Regions from separate parts of the Homo sapiens genome. Here region 1 is linked to region 2. Evidence: promoter capture Hi-C in human tissues and cell types (Jung and others, 2019). All regions are on one chromosome and are shown on one strand. Each heading gives the region's core, a stretch centred on a gene start or on the middle of the fragment in contact. The rest is flanking DNA. Distances are from core to core; before and after follow the strand shown.

Region 1 (4,093 bases), core at 305-2,804, 320 kb before region 2:
ACAATGATTTCAAAATAAAAGTTTAAACAACAAAAACAACAATTCCCCTAAGTTGCACACATCATTTTCTACTTATATCTAACTGGCTAGACTTAGTCACATGGTCACCTAAACCAACAGGAAACTGGTAAATAGTCTTCATTTTGGGGAACTGTGCGCTCAGTTAAATTCAGAGAATTACTGACAAATAGTTAAATGGACATTTCTAGACAACTGGAAGTTTCTGCCACAGTCCCTATAGTGTATTATGTACACAGCAGCCAGTGACCTTTTCAAAATACAAATCAGATCACATCACAGCCTTGCTTAAAATCTTCCAGTAGAGTCCCATTATAGTTAGAACAACTCTGTGCCCCTTACTCTGACTTCGGAGGTACTATGTGACCTGGAGCCTGCGTGTCTCTCTGGCCTTCCGAGCGCTCTCTACTAGAACACAGGCCGCCTTCCCATCACTCAAAACACATCAAGCTAATTCTTGCCTCAGGAACCAGCTGTGCCTTCGGCCTAGAATCTCTTTGGCTGATTCCTTCCTGTTGTTCAGGTCTTGTGAGGCTTTCCCAATTTCTAAATAAGCGCTACATTTTCTCCTTCATTTTGCTTTACTTCATTATTATATTACCTGGTATTTTGAGTCTTGTTGGTTGTCTGTCTCTTCTCACTAGAAAGAAGGGCCTTGTCTGTCTGATTCACTGATGCATCTCCACAGCCTAAAAGACTGTCTGGCCTCAACAGTATTCAATACAGACACGATGAACACATGGGGGTGACTGAGCGCGACTCCAGTGCATCTTCTTTGTAACCGCAAACACATAGCACAGTAACTGACAGGCACACATCTTGGATGAACAAACAGTAGCCACACATGTGACCTTGCTTTTTTAAATGCGAGCACAAATCAGGGGATGGGAAAAGAACTGAGATTCCCCCCCACCCTCCTGAGATACCCTGCCACCACTGTTATTTTCCTCAAGCTGGCTCAATTTACCTTTGTTAGTAATTAAGTGTGTCTCTTTCTACATCTTCCTGTGTTAAGCAACTCAGTGGTAAACATAAAGCTTTTAAAATCCAACACAGAGAACCACCTACCTGGTCTCTCTGCTCATTACCATTTCCTATAATGACAGCAGAACAGAGTTCAATTAGAGTCCACATACTATTTGACATGGCAGTCACTTGTTTTTGATAAACTATGTTCCAAAGAACAAAAAAAGTACCCAAATTTAATCAAACTCAATCATACTTTACTAGTTAAGAACAAAGATGGATGGTGAACTTTGGGATCACTCCAGCCTACATATGCTAATGACATGCCAATCACTTTAGTAAGAAAGAGTAACTCTATAGCAGAAGTGCTTTCTCTTTCCTGCAGAATGTGACAAACTCCTCCTTAGTCGAGCTGATCTGAGATGGCGCTTTTGTAAGCTGTATTTTAATTACACATCAGTCCTCCTGACTGTACAGTGACTACCATCACCTTCTAACATGATCAGGTCATATTTGAAAGACTACTTGGTATCTTCTAGTGCTGTAATTTCCAATGTTACTCCAGGCATATTTAAACCAACATGTCTTAATGTCATTTTGATTAGAAAGGACTGAACTTTCAGATTAGTATACCCTGTAATTTTGGAAGCAATATAACAAACCCGTTGAAGTGTCAGTTCTTGGAGCCACCCTGGTGTTTGAGGTGACTGAGAGGGCAAGGCCTCCCACCAATCACAGCAACTCTGTTCTGTTGTCCTTTTTCCTTTTTTTTTCAAGTGCTTCCTCACAAAAGTTCCTCTGAAGTTTGGAAACCATTGGATTAGACCACCTCTTAAGATGCTCCTTTCCAACTCAAAGATCATAATAATTTCAATCTCCAGTGCCTCAGGGAGACGTATTTCTAAGTATAAATAATTATTCTACAGGAGCGTAAGTTGAAAAATGATAGGAGATTGTGCTGGATGGGTGGTACCCCAAGAGAAGGAGGTAGTCTATTGTTTTAAAATTTCAGATATGAACTTTATTTCTAGTCTATCATTTTTCTATCTTTTCTAAAAAGGACTGAAAATGGCTTTGATTTCAACTTGTTTTGTCATGCAGGGTTTTTCCTAAATAGTGATTTTAATTTCAAAATGAAAGATAAACCAGATTGCAGTTGAGGATTTACTACAAAAAAACCATTATTTAATAAGACTTTTCAATTGACAGTGTTAAAACAGTTTTTCCCAACCCCTGGAAGGAAAAGCCAAAAAGTTGATTTTTAATAAGGCTTTAGTATTAAAGGACAAGTTTTTCAGTACCACACTTATTTCTGTATAACTAGTTTATAGTCCTGGGTGAAATGTAAGAATGAAAAACGAGTTAATACTTGCACCGTCTCAGACAAGATTTTTAAATACAGTGCCAAGGAATATTTTTGCTGTTACATTACAAATTTAACCAGTTTCTACAGCTTGAAATATTGCTGAGTCGAACAGATTCTCCTGAAGCAAGTGTGCAGAATAAGAACAAAAAATGGATTTATAATCCTCATGTAATATTTTCATGAGACTATAATGCTTAGTTAACCTTGACAGAAGATTAACTCGAATTCTGTGAGGCCTAGAGTGATCACAGCTAAAAGTGAATTTTTTAGTTTCAACAACATAGGAAAGGTTTAAAAGCCTAGTAAGGTTATTCTTTTGTCTTAATGGCTGAAAGTAAAACAAGAATAATCAGTGGCATCTTAAAGAACTAAAATTACTTTCTACTTAAAATCTCACACACTCATTATGGCTGATTTATTTTAGTAGAAACTGACCATAATATTTCAAACAAGGCTTCTGTGGGTAATATCCACAATTATGTAAATGTTAAATAGCTGCTTCAGATAAGAACCTCTTTGATGTTAAAGCAATTCACTTTATAGGATAAAAGGAAAACTTCTTCATGCCTTGGGGCACACAATGAGTAGTTTGTAATGGGAAAGGCCAGTATCTTTTTAAAGGCAACTTTTTAAAATTAAAATATTGATTTTTAAATAAATTATACATGCGTTTGGTAAAAAAAAAAAACAAAAACAAAATCAAGTGATACAAATGGGTGTGCAGTGAAACCAGTCTTCCCTTCATTCCTGTCTTTTAATCCCCTAGATTTCCGTATTAGAATCAACTACTGTTAACAATTTATTGAATCTTTCCAGACCAGTTATTGGCATTTACAAGTTGATACCACAGACGACTTTAAAAATAACTTGCTTTCTCTCTAGGAAGCCGCCACCAATAGCAGCAACAACAATAATAATTCAGCTTGAGCTTTAAAAATACTCCAGCATGTAAAAATAGTGTAGGCTAACACTGAAAAAAGAAAAGCCAGACACTATATTGTTTTCACCGTAGCTCTGCCATCACCAGAATCCTTTCCTGAAAGGTACAACACTCAACGCTTCACCACGATGGCCAGAGAGGGCAGTGTGCACCCACGGGAAAGGCAAAGGCAGAAACGCTGCAAATCCCTTCACCATTGGAGGAGGCGCTACCAGCCCCTACCCTATCCAGCTCGATTTTATCAAGTTCTGCAGGTAAAGCGGTGTGACAGATCTACGCGATTTCATCCGGGGGTGCTCTCGGATGCACGGTCAGTAGCATGCTGACAACCTTACCGTAGTGAGGGCGCAATCCGACAACGGCAGAAAATTCAGATAAGCAACACGATCAGAAATCCTAGTGTGCATACGGTTTATCACGAAAGAGTAAAAACATTCCTTTCCCAGGAATGACTGTAAAAATTAGGAGTTAGAGATATGAAAGCCACAGGATGAATTTCAGAGTTGTTTTCAATTGTAATAAAGAAATCACTACGGATTTACGGTTTGTGAAATATTCATCAGCTAGAAAGTCCTAGGTTACCTTAGTACAAGCTGTAGATACGTTTACAGTGGGGTAGTTAAACGTTTCGAATTACTGAAATCTCAATTACGAATTTAGGAATATGTGGAGAGTAGACAATGTGTCCAATTAAAATCAAAAGCAAAATTACACTGAACTTTCTAATAAAACAAATTTGAAAAAAGTGCTGTTAGGGAGCAGGAAAAAAGTCACTCTACAAATATTAAGATACAGTGCTGAGT
Region 2 (4,028 bases), core at 1,292-3,791:
ACTGTGTTGGGTCACTATCATGGAGGTAGAGGTGTGGGAGTGGTCATTGTTTCATGCAATGCCAACCACAGAAAAGAAAAATAACTATTACTTGAACATTTTAAAAATTCAGATAATTAAACTTGAATTCCTTCCAAGTCAACCTTAAAAACTCACCATCAGTCAATTAAACAAAAAAATTAGAACACTGACTTTTTCCCCACTGCAAAATAGGCCCCTCTTCCACAAAACACAACACATGGCTAATACAATGAGACTACTGTGAGTGACTGCTGCCTCAAGATGAGGCACAGAACGAGACACATTCAAGAAGGGATACGAGGGATACGAGATTGCAAGGAAATAAAGGGTGTTTATATAGAAACAAACCTGGATCCACTCAAATTTATTTCTTTAAAGTCATTTTTAAACTTTGGTATTTTCACTATTTTTCCAAAAAATCACTTGCTACTCATACCTCACAAACAGTGGTTTTGCATCCCAACACTAAGGCTGACTTTAAAGACAACCAATCAGCTACTGCATATCCATTATTATATTAATGACTAAAGTTTTATCAAAATAATCATATTTGTACTTACTTGAAAGATACCTTTACTTTGGGTTTAAAATAGGGTGCATTCTGGTCTGCCAAAAAGACGATTAAGTCATTTCCTAAAGAAAACAAATATATGATATTAGAAAAATGTTTGTTGATAAGATATCTAATCAGTGGTTACAAGAAGGTTTCTGGGCACTGTTCTCAACAAGAAAACTTTTATTCTACTCCAGTTCATCTGCCCTCTCAAGCATAGTCCCACTAGTCCAATGGAGATGCCTAACATTATATCACAAGTTCAATGTTCAAAGTAGCAGAGAAATAGAAAGGATGAACATGGGAAAAAGCAGCTGATCAAGAGAAACTGAAGCCAGTGGATTCTGCGAGGAGTCAGATTGGTTGACTTAAAAGAACCATATAAAGATGCCTTATAACTATACTACATGTCAAGACTTGTCTTCCCCGAATCTAGCAATGCTGTCCCTTGTAAGGCTGTTTGGTTCATTACACAGATGCATCACACCAAGGATGCAGGGACTCCCATTGTAGATATCTGACAAAGACATAATTAAGCATGTGAGCACAAAATGCTGAATCCTCCAAGACCCTCCTCCTATGGGGCCATCCTCCAGAGGGTGACACATTCTTGGAGCTCAATTAGCACTCATTGAGACAGACTTTTGGAATTGTTTAATCAAACACAGGCCATCTTTAAAGTCAAGGCTACTCTCTGTATCCAGTTTGGACACAGCAGCAACAGGTTTGGCAGTACACTGCAAAATGAGGAGTCAAAAAGATTGGGAAAATATTCAGGGTTTGTAAGAGGTTCCTGCATCCCCGCAAGGGCTCCAAGAAGTCTGGTTCAGGATCCTGTCAGGCAAGCTCTGAGTAGCTCTTCCTTCCTTCCTTCACAGCATTGATCTTTAAGCAGCACCTGCTTCTGTAGGTACTCAAGAACCCTAAGACCCCCTAATGCCCACTGTCAGCATCAAGATTTACAAAAAAGTTAGTTTAACGATTGTCAAAGCAAAGAATTTCCAAGAACAAGTTAGCAAAGAAAGTAGACATTTGGAACACTAAGGTGATGACCAAGATGAGGAAGGAGTACACGAAAGAACAGGCAGCTCAAGAGAGAAATTTCTGTAGTTTGAGACTGCTTTCCCAAGGAGGCATTGGGTTTATCAGTGGTCCCTGCAAAATGCTTGTGTGAGCTGTTTAGTGTTTAGGCCCTTGGAAGGGTACATTCGCTTCATAGAAAGTTGTGGCCTTGACAAAGAAAGGGGTGGGCGAATTAGGTAGGTGGGGAGGCAAGAAGAAGCCCCCTATGAGAAGAGATTGTCAGGTTGCACCTTTTCATGTTCATCAACGGGGAAGGAAGACTGAAGCAAAATAGAAAGGAATGAGTGGGCCTTGGGAGCGAACGTTGAGGCAAGCTACAAAGATTCCTAGGAATCAGGAAGCACTTTGGAAAACAGGTGATTCCATGGGGAGGAGGGGGTAAGGTGACTGGGTGAGGGCCGCAGACTTCTTAGGAACAAAACTGAGGTGCTGTCAGGGCTTTTGAGGGTAGGTCAAACTGTAGGGTAGCTGGGTCAGAACCTGGGGTTGGAAAGGGTGGTGCAAAAGGACAAGCTGTTAAGAATGCTAAAGGGAAGGCCACAGGGCTGGGAGAGAAGGACCAGGAAATGCAGAAGGACCGGCCATTGGGCAATGGGTTTGGGGAACACCGGGAGAGGCACACGGACAGCGAACAGAGGGAGGGCCCGGCAAGCACTGACTTTCCCGCAGCACGAAGAGATCCGTCTGCTTGTCGGAGTTGAGGTCCCCGAAAGCCGCAAGGGTGCCCCAGGCCTCGGCCCCAAAGAGCTCGGCCGTGACGTTGTGCAGCGCCCGCGCTGGGACCGGCCCGACTCCCAGTAGTGCAAGCCCTGCGAGGAGCGGCGAGAAGAGGGCCCAGGAGCTCGGGAGCCGGCCCGCCGCCGCCATGGCAGCCCCTCAGCCCCCGCCCGCCGGCCCAACGCCGCGCTTGACGACAGCCGCAAAGCACCGCGTTACCGGCCGAGAGAGTGGCGCGCAGCCCCGGGACGCGTAAGAGCCGCTGCCGGCTCCTTTTTCTCTCTCCCACTAGGGCTGCCCTTCCGACGCTAAAAAAGCAGTGGAGCTAGGGTGAAAGCCGCCCTCACGCTCACTTCCGGCAGGCGCGCCTCCCGACAGTGTCGTGCGGGGGGCGTGGCCCGGCATTGCTGACAGGCGGCCCCGGGGGCGGTGGCCAAGGCGGCGACCGGAGCGCGATGGCGGGGGCGGCGGGACTCACGGCAGAAGTGAGCTGGAAGGTCTTGGAGCGAAGAGCTCGGACCAAGCGCTCAGGTTTGGCTGGCTGGGGCGCCGCCCCCCACCCGAGTACCTTGGGTGGTGCTTCGCCTCAAGCGCCTTGGCGGGAGGCAGGTGGGGGCCCTGGGAATGAACCTGTGCCCCGAGTTCCTCCTTAGAAAGCAGGTGGCGGCCCTGGCCTTGTTTCTAATATCTTCCTCCACCTCTAAAAATTAGGTGGCAGAGCCAGCTCCACTCTGCGTGTGCCCCCGACTCTATTCCGCTTGTGAGCCCCACTCGGAAAGTAGGCAGCGGTCCGGACTTCCCTTAGAGTCTTCTAACTTAAAAATCGGGCGGCGGCACATTCCTGGGAAAGGGAATGTGTCTTCCCTGTGAATGTGTCTTTCCTGTGAATGTTCTCTGCAAAAGTCAGATAGCTTAATCAGACCAAGTCAGATGTAACTACGATCTGGCTGCAGAAAGCCGGCGTCTGGGCTCCTTGCTTTATGTCTTATATCCCTTTTACATTCCCCACAGGTTCTAAGCAGTAGACCTGTCATCTATCTAGCAGAAACTGAAGGAGACTGGGCCTCAGATATTGAAGAGTATAGTTAGGGCCCAGAAAGAAAAGGGCTTCTTAAGTGGCCCCAGGTTGTGTGGTTTCCAAACCCGAAAGCATAGAGGTCAGAAGGTGCCTTGCAGGCAGTTTTAACAGTTCCAAGTGTCCCGAACTGACTTGTTCAAATTGCAACGTCATGACTTGTGGCGTTATTAAAACTTCCTGTATTCCTGGTTGGCTGGATATAATCTTGAACAAAAGGCATGCACTTAAACAGGAAAGGTGAAAGGCGGAATGCAGGTTTTCAGCTAAGGAGCTTCCCTTTTAAAGAATTGATGAAGTGTCATTATTGGGGGTGGGTGTGAAAGGTGTTAGCTAGGAAAATTAACTTTGCACTTGCATTGATATTAAGAAATTATTTTCGGACGGGCGCGGTGGCTCACGCCTGTAATCCCAGCACTTTGGGAGGCCGAGGCGGGCGGATCACCTGAGGTCAGGAGTTCGAGACCAGCCTGGCCAACCTGGTAAAACCCCATCTCTACTAAAAATACAAAAATTACCTGGGCGTGGTGGCGGGCGCCTGTAACCCCAGCTACTCGGGAGTCTGAGGCAGAAGAATTG

Evidence for each region. Contacts are between HindIII fragments. The study calls those that stand out against the background at their distance.
Region 1: a fragment that was not itself captured here is called in contact with the fragment with the promoter of ITFG1 in region 2 in 1 of the 25 tissues and cell types used here (hippocampus).

What each region holds. Positions count from the first base shown.
Region 1 is chr16:47,138,435-47,142,527 of GRCh38, forward strand. All of the region lies in intron 1 of NETO2 (neuropilin and tolloid like 2), which reads right to left. Among named protein-coding and RNA genes, the nearest start is that of NETO2, 3.5 kb to the right of the region's middle. RefSeq lists silencers at 3,515-3,604, 3,615-3,664. The HindIII fragment of the contact is 7,905 bases long and covers 1-4,093 here.
Region 2 is chr16:47,458,522-47,462,549 of GRCh38, forward strand. It overlaps ITFG1 (integrin alpha FG-GAP repeat containing 1), which reads right to left and starts at 2,542. Exons shown (of 18, transcript NM_030790.5): 1 at 2,317-2,542; 2 at 582-654. The coding sequence starts at 2,524. PHKB (phosphorylase kinase regulatory subunit beta) reads left to right here and starts at 2,810. Exons shown (of 31, transcript NM_000293.3): 1 at 2,810-2,905. The coding sequence starts at 2,830. RefSeq lists a silencer at 2,451-2,920. The HindIII fragment of the contact is 6,431 bases long and covers 494-4,028 here.